2 separate regions of the Homo sapiens genome follow, and region 1 is linked to region 2. Evidence: promoter capture Hi-C in human tissues and cell types (Jung and others, 2019). All regions are on one chromosome and are shown on one strand. Each heading gives the region's core, a stretch centred on a gene start or on the middle of the fragment in contact. The rest is flanking DNA. Distances are from core to core; before and after follow the strand shown. Region 1 overlaps CPVL (carboxypeptidase vitellogenic like). Region 2 holds the start of PRR15 (proline rich 15).

What was found. The method cuts DNA at HindIII sites, captures the fragments that hold promoters and counts their contacts. A contact is called where the count stands out against the background at its distance.
Region 1: a contact is called between a fragment that was not itself captured here and the fragment with the promoter of PRR15 in region 2, in 1 of the 25 tissues and cell types used here (pancreas).

Annotation. Positions count from the first base shown.
Region 1 is chr7:29,114,629-29,119,930 of GRCh38, reverse strand. All of the region lies in intron 2 of CPVL (carboxypeptidase vitellogenic like), which reads left to right. Among named protein-coding and RNA genes, the nearest start is that of CPVL, 29 kb to the left of the region's middle. The HindIII fragment of the contact is 4,908 bases long and covers 1-3,885 here.
Region 2 is chr7:29,561,108-29,566,617 of GRCh38, reverse strand. It overlaps PRR15 (proline rich 15), which reads right to left and starts at 2,783. Exons shown (of 2, transcript NM_175887.3): 1 at 2,241-2,783; 2 at 1-433. The coding sequence starts at 288. PRR15-DT (PRR15 divergent transcript) reads left to right here and starts at 2,927. Exons shown (of 2, transcript NR_183550.1): 1 at 2,927-3,230. RefSeq lists an enhancer at 297-1,160. The HindIII fragment of the contact is 8,966 bases long and covers 1,231-5,510 here.

The sequences.
Region 1 (5,302 bases), core at 182-2,681, 450 kb after region 2:
ACTTATTTAAACATCTCAACATCCCGGGGAGGTGGACCCATTTTACACATGTGAAACCAAGGCAGAAAGAGATTGAGCTACTAGCCAGAGTTCATGCAGATATCAGCTGGTGTGTAGGCTTCATACTCAGCCTCACTGCAGCCTCCCTGCTGTGCCCCGTTATCCAGCAAGTCTGGGCCTTAGTTTTCTCATTAAGATAAGATGGAGCTTTAACAACTTACCCAACTTACAGAGATGTTATGAAAATCCAATGAGATAAGGCACGTGAAAATCTTTTGTACTCTATAAGTTGTTCTCCAAATATGAGTGTTTGCAATTGGCTTTATTTAGAGATTGTGGGTTTTTCTATTGTTATTACCAATAGGAAAAAAGGTATCACTTAGTGTTATCAGAGGCTAAAATTTATGACCTGCATCTGCTCTTTTTTTTTTTTTTTTTTTTTTTTGAGACAGAATCTTGCTCTGTTGCCAGGCTGGAGTGCAGTGGTGCAGCCTCGGCTCACTGCGCTCTGCACCTCCTGCGTTCAAGCGATTCTCCTGCCTCAGCCTCCTGAGTAGCTGGAACTACAGGCATGTGCTACCACGCCCGGCTAATTTTTATATTTTTAGTAGAGATGGGATTTTGCCTTGTTGGCCAAGCTTGTCTCAAACTCCTGACCTCAAGTCATCTGCCTGCCTTGGCCTCCCAAAGTGCTGGGATTATAGGCGTGAGCCACTGCCCCCGGCCCTGTATCTGCTCTTAATGCTTCTTTGCGCTTAATCACTGTGCGAGTAAATGATTTCAACTTTCTGGACTTCAGTAGGTTCCTAAGCTATAAAACAGTAGACAGGTAGCTATTCTGAGGAGCTGTTTGCAAAGAGCAGCAGAAAAATGGGGTAGTGGCTGGAGGGAGCACTGGGGTCCAGGAAGGGTCTTTAACAGAATAGGAGAGAATGTTTGTTTGCTGATGGAAATGATGAGTGGGGAATTGGTTTGGTTTGGGGAACCATTGTTGGAGACTGTGTTTAAGAAGGTGAGAGACAGGGATCTGGCACACAGGGGCCCCAAGGTTGTCCCTTGTCACAGGTGGGAAGGCAGAGATGGTGCCTGTGAAGCTGGCAGGTTGGCAGATGTGATGGGAATGAAGAAGAACACCGGAAATTTTAGACAAATGGTCATTTTAAAGATCAAAAGCAAATCTAAATACTCTATAAAGAAGTTTAAAATAAAGCAAGTTTTATTCGTTCAAAGTGTTCTCACAGCCAATAGGATGTCATTGTTTTTTGGTTTTCGTTTTACACGAAGACATTCTTGTATTTTAAGGGTATGTGTAAGTGCTGTTCATATGTCTTTTTCTGAAATACACATTGGCTTCAAGTTTCACCATCTCTTTTCTAAGGAAAGATGAAAAACTTTGATAATGTATTTAGTGTATTTTAAAAAGGACTGATTTTTACCTCACAAGAGAAGTCTTGGGAAGATGGCTGCCCCACCATATGGGCTGATACCATTAAGATGCTTGTGAAGAGGCAAAGTGTCGTTAAACCCTCCAAATTGGATTACATGCACGTATTTCAGCTTCCTTAACAAGTGGATTCTGATGGCTTAGATTTCTGTTCATTAACAGTAAATCAAAGCAAACCATTTAATGTAGGGATGAAAAGGAGTTAAGTAATTGTTATAACCAAATTCTACCAATCCACATATGAGGAAATTGAGACTGAAATACTTTATCCGAGTTGCCCAACGGGATGTGTGCAGTAGAGTTGGGTAGCAGAGATGGGTTTAGGACCCAAATCTTCTGACTTCTGCTCTGTGATTTGCCTACTATAATTTAGTTCTGTTTGTTTCAGAAGCTTCTAAAGTGTTCTTCTAAAGTGACCAGATGCATACACACAAAACAATTAAGGAATTAGGCAGTGCATACTAAAGTACTAAAGTATTACATTTAAAGTAAGTGCACTGGAGATTCGGAGGAGGAACCTATCCCTGTCGGTTGGCATAATCGAGGGAGAAAATACTAGAGCTGTCGTAGTTGTAAAAATAATAAGTAGCTAACATTTAGTCATTATATCCCTAGTACCTAGCATAGTACCTATACATAATAGGTATGTATAAATATGTATGGAATTTAAATTTGGGTACCAACCATGTGCCAGGCATTGTGCTTTACATCCATTAGCTCATGTAGTTCTCAGAGCAACCCTAATGAAGAATCCATAAGCATTGTTCCCATTTTACAAATGAGAACACTGAGGCCCGGAGAAATCAAATATCTTGCCTAGGGCCATAAAACTAGTAAGTGGCAGAGCTTGAATTAAAACCTATACTGGCCAACCCCAGGGCCCATGGTATGAACCACTATGCTATATGAGCAGCTCTGAATTAAACCCTATACTGGCCAACCCCAGAGCCCATGATATGAACCACTATGCTGTATGACCAGCTCTGGACTTCAGAGTGTCGGGTAAGATTTACGTAAATAGCGAAAGGTCTGTGCGTACCAAATGAGAGAAACAGCTTAAACAAAGGCATTAAGTGAAAGTGACCATGGTGTTTCTGTATCATACATCTGGTGGAACCAAGTAAAAAGAATACAGAGAAATCCATCTGAGAGACTACTGACATCTCTCCTGTTCTTGTCTTTCTTGCCTATGAGCATTTCTCAGTTATGGGTATTAGCAGCAGCCAAGAAAGATTCCAAGGGAGGTAGTTTTATCTTCCACCCTCCCATGTCAAGATTGGTAGATCTTCATCTGATGATTGACAACATTTAAAATATTAAATCTGTGTATAATATCACTTCCTGAAGTTATGTTACACAGTCAAATTCTTTGAACAGAATTTTAAGTGGCTGATTCAAAATCTGGTACATCTGGGTATTCAAATGTAGCCCTGACAACATAATTAAGGATAATTTTATTCATCCGCTTTGCTGAAAGTTCAGGAAGCTCTGGACAGATGGTCAGCTCACTCCCCTAAATCCCTTTTGTTTATCGAGTCTGTCAAAACCCTAGGAACGTGAGTCTTATTATTGCAATGGAACATTTTCGAGATAAACAGTAGCTCGCAAAAAAACAAGGGAAATTTTTAATTTTTAAATCCTCATTTAGCTGGCTTAGTTTTATGTAATTGTAATTGCATGTTTACTTTCTCTGAAGCTAGAATAAATCTTTACTCCCTGAAACAAAATGAAGTAGGAGGCACATTTTAGCTTGTTTATAAACACTGCATTTTCACACTTTAAAGACTATTTTACTGGTAGGTCCTAATTTATTGTTACTTATGATCTGATAATGTCTGTCCACACTGGTGATAACTTGAGTGTTTGTGAATCTGGCATGCATGCTGATTAGCTGGTTCAAGCCCTTTGTTGGTCACATTCCAATGTTTTTGAAAGTGTTAATATCACAAACATTGGTTGCAGCAGTAAAAAACAAGGAGGAAGTAAAATCACTTCAAAGAAAACCTTTTCCTTTTTAAAACTGTTCTAAACATTTGTATTGTGAGTCATGGTGCTGGAAAGATAGAAACTCCTCCATCTTGGGAGTTTGTTTTCCACATTCCATTAATAGAAGGATGCACAGGACATTTGAAAATATAAAAAGTCATTTTAGTTGATGACATTTTAAATTATTTTACTGGGATTTAGTTAGTGGAAATTTAAAATTTGAAACAGGGCAAAACTTTTTTTATGGGCTAGAGAAAAGTTCTAAATTTCTTAAGATCTTTTAGCAAGGTCTGCCTTAGGAGGTTTTTGTAGAAATAAGCCAATCTTGGTGCCTTGTCAGTAGGGCTTGTTTTAGTTCATTCATTTATTGACTTGTTCATCCATTCATTTGTTAACATTCATTCATTAAAAAGTATTTATTGAATGTCTTAGGTGTGTAAGTCAGCATGCCGAGTCCCAAGGTATGCAAAGTTAAATAACACAAATTCCCCACTTTCCAACCTCCTGACCTAGGAGGGAAGGTCTGAAACATACTCAAGTAAAAGGTAGTAGAGAAGCTACTTTGGCATCCTCAGGAAGGGAGGGATGAGTGAACATCTGAATCATTTGAGAGCAGTCTGTGGACCCTGTGTGGTGCTGGTCTTGGGAGAGATAGATTGATTGAATCATCCTTTCCTCTGTTCCATTCCCTCCAGCTCCTTTCTATTATATATTTTCTCTTTTTCTCATTATACTTTGACCTTTCTCATTTTTGTGTTGTCTTTCTCAAATCCTCTTCTTCCCATTTACCTCTCTGTGGTCCACATCTCACTCATTTCCAATCCACAGTTTTTACTTCTCTACTCTCCTTTTTTTTTTTGGGAGGCAGGGGGTGGTATCTGTTTGATTTTGAGAAGATTAATAGTTTTGCTAAAAATATTTCAAAAGCATTTTAAAGGCTGCCCAGCCCTGGGGGGTGATCTTTCTCTGGGCTAATTAAGAGTGGAAGTGAAGAAAGGGAGAAGAAAAACGACAGATGGCGGGAAGAGTGGGAGGGGAGGAGTGGCAAAAACCACTTTCCCCAAACACCTCCCTTTTCTTTCTCATAAGATCCTCACCTCTCTCTCTTTTTCTCTGGCTTTTTTTCTGATGGAGGAGGGATAGACCTCATTGGGAACAGAATGTGAAGACCAACAGAGGTTGCATTAAGCAATCTTCCCTGGGAGAACCAGGCTGAGCCAGAAAAAGGAAATTCTTCTAGACTTCACTTGGAGTGGCCAAAGGCTAATGATAACTTTCCCTTCCAATTGACTGAACCCATATTTTATGTGCAGTGCTAGGCTAAGGGTTCATATGCATTTTTGTTGTTTGATCCTCACAGAAAGCCCAGGATAGCGGAATCAGTATTTATATTTTGCATAAAAGGAAAGAGGCTCAGAGAGATGGAGCAACTTGCTGGGGAGTCCTAATCTAGTTAGGATTCCAAACCCAGGTCTGTCAGGCTAGGAAACCCATGCTCTTCTATTGTGCTAGCCTAACAGGACCCTCAAGGACCACCTGTTGAGACCTTTCTTTTGTCCCCATGACCTCCTCTGCTCAGAGGTGCTCCCTGTTCCTAGTCAGCAGGTGCATTTCACAGACAGCAACAGTAGTTCTGCTCCCTACCTGCCAGCTTCTTTATATAGATTTTACATGTGGGGGCTCTTTTAATCCAGGTGGCCCACAGGCAGTACATCTTCCATAGAGGAGAAACTGAAGAACAGGGAGGTTAAATGCCTGTATGGTGGGTCACCAGCTGGTCTATAGGAGCACTAGGATCAGCAAAGGAACTGTGTGGTCTAGATGAGAGGTTTTCCTTTTGAGAGGCATGCCTATATATATGTTTTTTTTTTG
Region 2 (5,510 bases), core at 1,534-4,033:
GCGGCCGGAGCGCGAGATCTTCAAATTGCGGCGGCTGCTGCCGGATTTGTCCCCGTATAACTTGTCTGGTTTGGGGGGCTCGCCGGCGCCCCCGAGGAGATTGGGGTGCTGGTTCTCCCGGGAGCTGCTGGTCCAGTCCGGGCTGGGCGGCGCAGGTGGCGTGGGCTCCCCGGGAGCGGGCTGGGCGGGAGGCGGCACCCCCACTGCGGCTTCCTTGCTTTTCTTTCTGCTGTTGGTGAGCGATTTCCACCAGGGGCCGGAGCTGCCAGCATCGCCGCTGTCGGCCATGGCCGGAGGGCCTAGGGGCTCCCGGCACCCAGATGGAAGGGCCAAAGCGGCCCCTTTCTCCACGTGGTCTCCGGCCGTTCACTCCACCCCTTCCCCGGCTTGCCACACGTGGGCTGCGGGGTGGATGCTGAGGCAGCGGCCTGTGCTGGGGAAGAAAACAAAACTTGGTTACTGGGTTGGTTGAAGTCACGTGCCCCCCCCAGTCCCCTTTCCTCCCTTATGCTGTCTGGCACCGGATCGGCCAGGGTCGGAGCGACCCAATCCCGTAGCTACGTAGCCCACATTAGCATTAGACGCCACTGCGCCCCATAGGGTGCTGGCGGAAGTGTCTTCCAGGGCACCATCACCTGGTCTCTAGGCTGAGCCTTGAACTCTTTGGCTTCAACCTTTGCCTTTCCTTCAGGGGAAGTGCAGTGCAGTGGTCAGCGTGCCCGGGGGACCCAAGGGACGTTCCCACCCCTCTGAATCAACCCGTCTCTAGAGGGAAAATGACCGCCCTGTCCACACTGCTTGACTGTAGATGGACGCCAAAAGGTGACCCATCCGACCCAGGGCGGCCTCCCTTTGGATAAGCACCTGGGAGGAGGGCGCTGGGAACCAAGTGCATCCTCTCTACAGGTGAACGGTATTAATTAGTCCATGGTCAAACAGTCACGAAATTTCCCTCCAAGATTTGCCCCCATCGACTTTCGTCCCAGGAGCCTTTTCGATGAGATACTTAGGAGAATTTATATCCCAGTAGGAGAGAAGGACAAGCTTATGATATTTGTTTTGGTTCTTTTAAATTCTACTTTTGACCACTTCTGCCTTGTGACTTTCAAAGAAGCATGTCTAGACTTAACTTCCCTTGAAAACCGCCATCCTAATTCTTCCTTTTACTCCCCAGAGCCCAATCTTGCGTCTGTTTGAAGTCACCCCCGGCTGACGGTTGAGATGAAGCCAAGTATCAAATGGCCTCTTCCCTTAGTTTTGTATTAAAATATGCACCGAGTCTGTACGACGCAACTCAACTCTGGAGAATTTCAGTTACAAAGTAAAGGCTTCTCTTCTTTTCCTTGTGCAATTCCCTCCTCCCAAGGAGAAAGAACGCAACAAGGAACTCCGAAACAATGTGCTTCTTCCCCAAGCTTCTAAGACCCCCCCTCTGCAGAGCGAAAGGCCGCTTCTGAGCACTTAGGTGCGGGTACAGCAAGCGAGACTCCCAGCCCACTTTCTGTGCGGGGTCTCTTGGGCGCTGCCACCAGCAACGGCAGGATTCGCCTGCGCCGCGGCTCACTTCCAGGTTTCCGCTCGGCTCCTTCCCAGCCCACGCGCCGGGCGCTCCTGGGATTGGCGATCGCGCTGGAGAGGGAAACTTCGGCGGTGTTTGTTGTAGGAGGTTCTCCTCCCGGAACCGCCAGGGAGAGGAAGTCTGATCGCCTACGGGAGGCGGCGGGGCGGCCTCGGCTGCGCCCCGAAACCGCAACACCGGCTCCTCCCCAGGATGCCCTGAGGACACACTCGGGCAGCGACTTGAAAACAATACAAGAAAAAACGGCCAAAAGTTCTTTCGGTACAAAAGGCACCCACGCCCTCAGGCACAATTAGCAACTGCGTCTGCAAACATCCCATTCCCTCCTACTTTGCAGATCGGAAAAGCAACCCGTACCCCCAAGTCATTTACTAACAGTGGTGGTAAGGTGTCCTGATGCTGCTTCCTCTCCTCTAACCTACATTTTCTTCTTCACAATCATCAACTTTGTGAGCACGGAAGGGCTTTGTACGAATTGCGCAAGGAAAAGATGGCAAATTACTCAAAAGTACAGAAAACGGAGTCCTGGAGCGTCCGTGGTTTTCAGCCTCTCTTAGGGCTCCGGGAGGCGGGTACCTGGGAGGTACCAGGCAGCACCCCAGGGTGACCCCCGGGGCCAGGCTCTGTCTCGGCGGACGCCGAACCACCCCCAGTCGCTCACCTGCTCGGGCTTAACAGGACCCGGAGGCCTCGCGCGGTGAACGCGGCCGAGAGCACGAAGGGGGCGCGCTCGGGTCAACCTGGAAGCCGGGGCTCGAGTCCCTGGGCGCGGACTTGGAGAGATCAGGCTTCTGGAAAGTGTACAGGTCGGAATTCCCGCAGCCCAGCTAAATCAAGTGCTGCTGCTGGTCTCCTCTGGCACCTCCAATTGCTGCGCGCTGCGGCGGAAGCCCGGGGCTCGCAGCGCAGTCTGTTCTGGTCGGAGGGGGCGGCGGCGAGGGGCCGCCAGACTCGCTGCCCGGGTGGAAGGTCCAGGGCGGCTTTCCGGGCTAGTAGTGTTTCATTCGCCGGCGCGTCCCTCTTCCCTGCTAGCACCGCCCGGGAGCCGGCTGAGAGATGGGACCCTGGCTGTTCACTCCGGCGCATCGAACTTGCCTACGCGTCCGTAGGAACGCAAAAAAGACATCTGCCCACCTGCTGGTTATTTGCCAAGTGATTCGGGAAACCAGAACCCTGGGGCAGCTGGGGGAGAAAAGAAAATAACCCAGGAGGCGGTCACCGCTGCCACAGGTGCAGGTAGGAACTTCGCGTTCCCACCCTCCAGGGGAGGAGATTGGATCAGGCGCCAGCCTTGAGGTGTCTGATTGGAGAAAAGCTGTGCAGTGCCGCTCCCCCGACCGACTCCTTGAGAAGAAACGGCGGAGACCTGAGACCCGGAGGCTGAGGCTGTAGGTGGGCTCCGCTGGGTAAAAGTTGCCGCAGCAGCTGTCCCTTGGCCCCATCGCGATTTATTTTTCCCCCTTGCTTTCCGGGTCCCGGGATCCCAAGTTTGTAACTAACGGGAGCGAATCCACACCCGAGCAAAATGTTTGCGAGTTTCAGGCGCCCTTAGTTGAAAGGCTGTAATTAACAAGTCCGCTGTTTGCCAGCCAGGCGCCGTTGCAGGCGCTTTCTGTGGATTGTCATTTATTTCTCACAGCAACCCTAGGAGGTAGGTATTGTTATTATTATTATTCTCACTCGACAGGCGAGGAAACCCTAGCACGGGAAAATGGTTGCTCAGGTTTGCCTGTCTGGTACGTGGCAGAGCAGGGTTGGAACCCAGGGGGCCTGACTCTAGCTTCTACGGTCTTAACCACCACAACCTGCCAGTCTGAGACTCTTAACACGACTCAGTGAGGATGTGAATTTCCTTCTTTCAGGCCTGGAAGTCCATGGACAGCCACCCAACGAGGGCAGTGTAAATCCAGCCCTGAGCCACTGCAGGAAGTGAACCGGGGATTGCACTCCTGGTCACATAAGAGTACTTTTTTTTTTTTTTTTTTTTTGAGACGGAGTCTCGCTCAGTCGCCGAGGCTGGACTGCAGTGGCGCGATCTCGGCTCACGGCAAGCTCCGCCTCCCGGGTTCACGCCATTCTCCTGCCTCAGCCTCCCGAGTAGCTGGGACTACAGGCGCCCGCCACTGCGCCCGGCTAATTTTTTGTATTTTCAGTAGAGACGGGGTTCCCCGTGTTAGCCAGGATAGTCTCGATCTCCTGACCTCGTGATACGCCCGTCTCGGCCTCCCTCCCAAAGTGCTGGGATTACAGGCGTGAGCCACAGCGCCCGGCCAAGAGTACTTTTTATTCATTTGACATAAAGATATTGGCACAGGGCATTTTCACTAATGAAGGCAGAGGTGCAGCTTGCTTCATCTTCCAGGATGCTCTTGTTTCAAAAAACGATTTTGATGTTCCTTGAGCTCATATGCAAGCATAACTCCCCTGAAGGACTGGGTGTGGAGCAACTGAGCATCTCTGTTGTGAAAACTGTTTGCAGTATAAAAGCAGTGAAAGACAGCCGGGCAAGATGGCTCAAGCCTGTAACCCTAGCGCTTTGGAGGCCGAGGCGGGTGGATCACATGAGACCAGGAGTTTGAGACCAGCCTGGCCAACATGACAAAACCTTGTCTCTACTTAAAAATAATAATAAAAAACAAGGTGGGTGTAGTGGTGCACGCCTGTATTCCCAGCTATTGGGGAGGCTGAGGCACAAGAATCATTTGAACCTGGGAGGTGGAGGTGGCAGTGAGCTGAGATCCGGCCACTGCACTCCAGCCTGGGTGACAGAGTGAGACTCTGTCTGTAAAAAAAAAAAAAAAAAAAAAAAGTAGTGAAAGACATACTGCCTAACTCAAATAATTTGCAATATAGAATTAGTAGAAAAAATTTTTAGAGAGTATTTCAATTTGTGAAAGATAAAAATATGAATATATGATTTACTTTTTAGTTTGGGATTCTTTGAATTTCTATGATATGCACAGCACAGGGTATTTGGAAGTCATGCATTTTTATATATTTCTCGGGATTACTTTTAGAGCATAAACTTTCAATCACAGAAGCAGGATTGAACAAAGGCAGGCCACCAACTTTGAGGGGAGAATGGGATAATTCATCATAGTGCCATTACTTTACAGATGAAATTGAATCATGGAAGAATGCCTTTATCTGAGGAGTCATCACCACTAGGGAGCTATGGAGGTGGGTTTTTACGTTGTTGGTTGAGCATATGGGTGAAAATAAAAAATTCAGGAAAAGAAAATAAGTTCTGCCAACTGGCTCCTCAAGTGTGATTTTAACAAAATGGTCAACATTTTACTAATAAGCAAACCTCTACTAACTGCTGAAATTAACAAAAAAAAAAGATTATTTTGCATGCCCTTTCTCATTTATATTCAGCAACTTTGAACTTAATAACAACATCTTACAAATAACCCTTGTGTACGGGGAGGACATTGAAGGAGAGACATGAAAACTGAGGAGAGATTAGCTGAGATGCAGAGTGGGTGAGCATTTCAGATGGAGGAAGTAGCGTGTGAACAACTTGGAGGTGTGAAGAAATTGAGGTTTCTTGAGAGGCAAAGAGCAGGCGCATGTGATCTGAGTGAGGAGAGGGAGCTGAAGCTGGAGAGGTGGGTGTGACCAGAACATTCAGGACCACAACCCACTAAAGAGGAAGAACATGGTAAGATTCGCAGTTAAATGTTGTGCAGTGGTGTATAAAGAATGAATGGGGCTGGGCGCGATGGCTCATGCCTGTAATCTCAGCACTTTGGGAGGCCGAGGCAGGTGAATCACGAGGTCAAGAGATTCAGACCATCCTAGCCAACATGGTGAAACTCTGTCTCTACTAAAAATACAAAAATTAGCTGGGTGTGGTGGCGTCCTTCTGTAGTCCCAGCTACTCAGGAGGCTGAGGCAGGAGAATCGCTTGAACCCGGGAGGTGGAGGT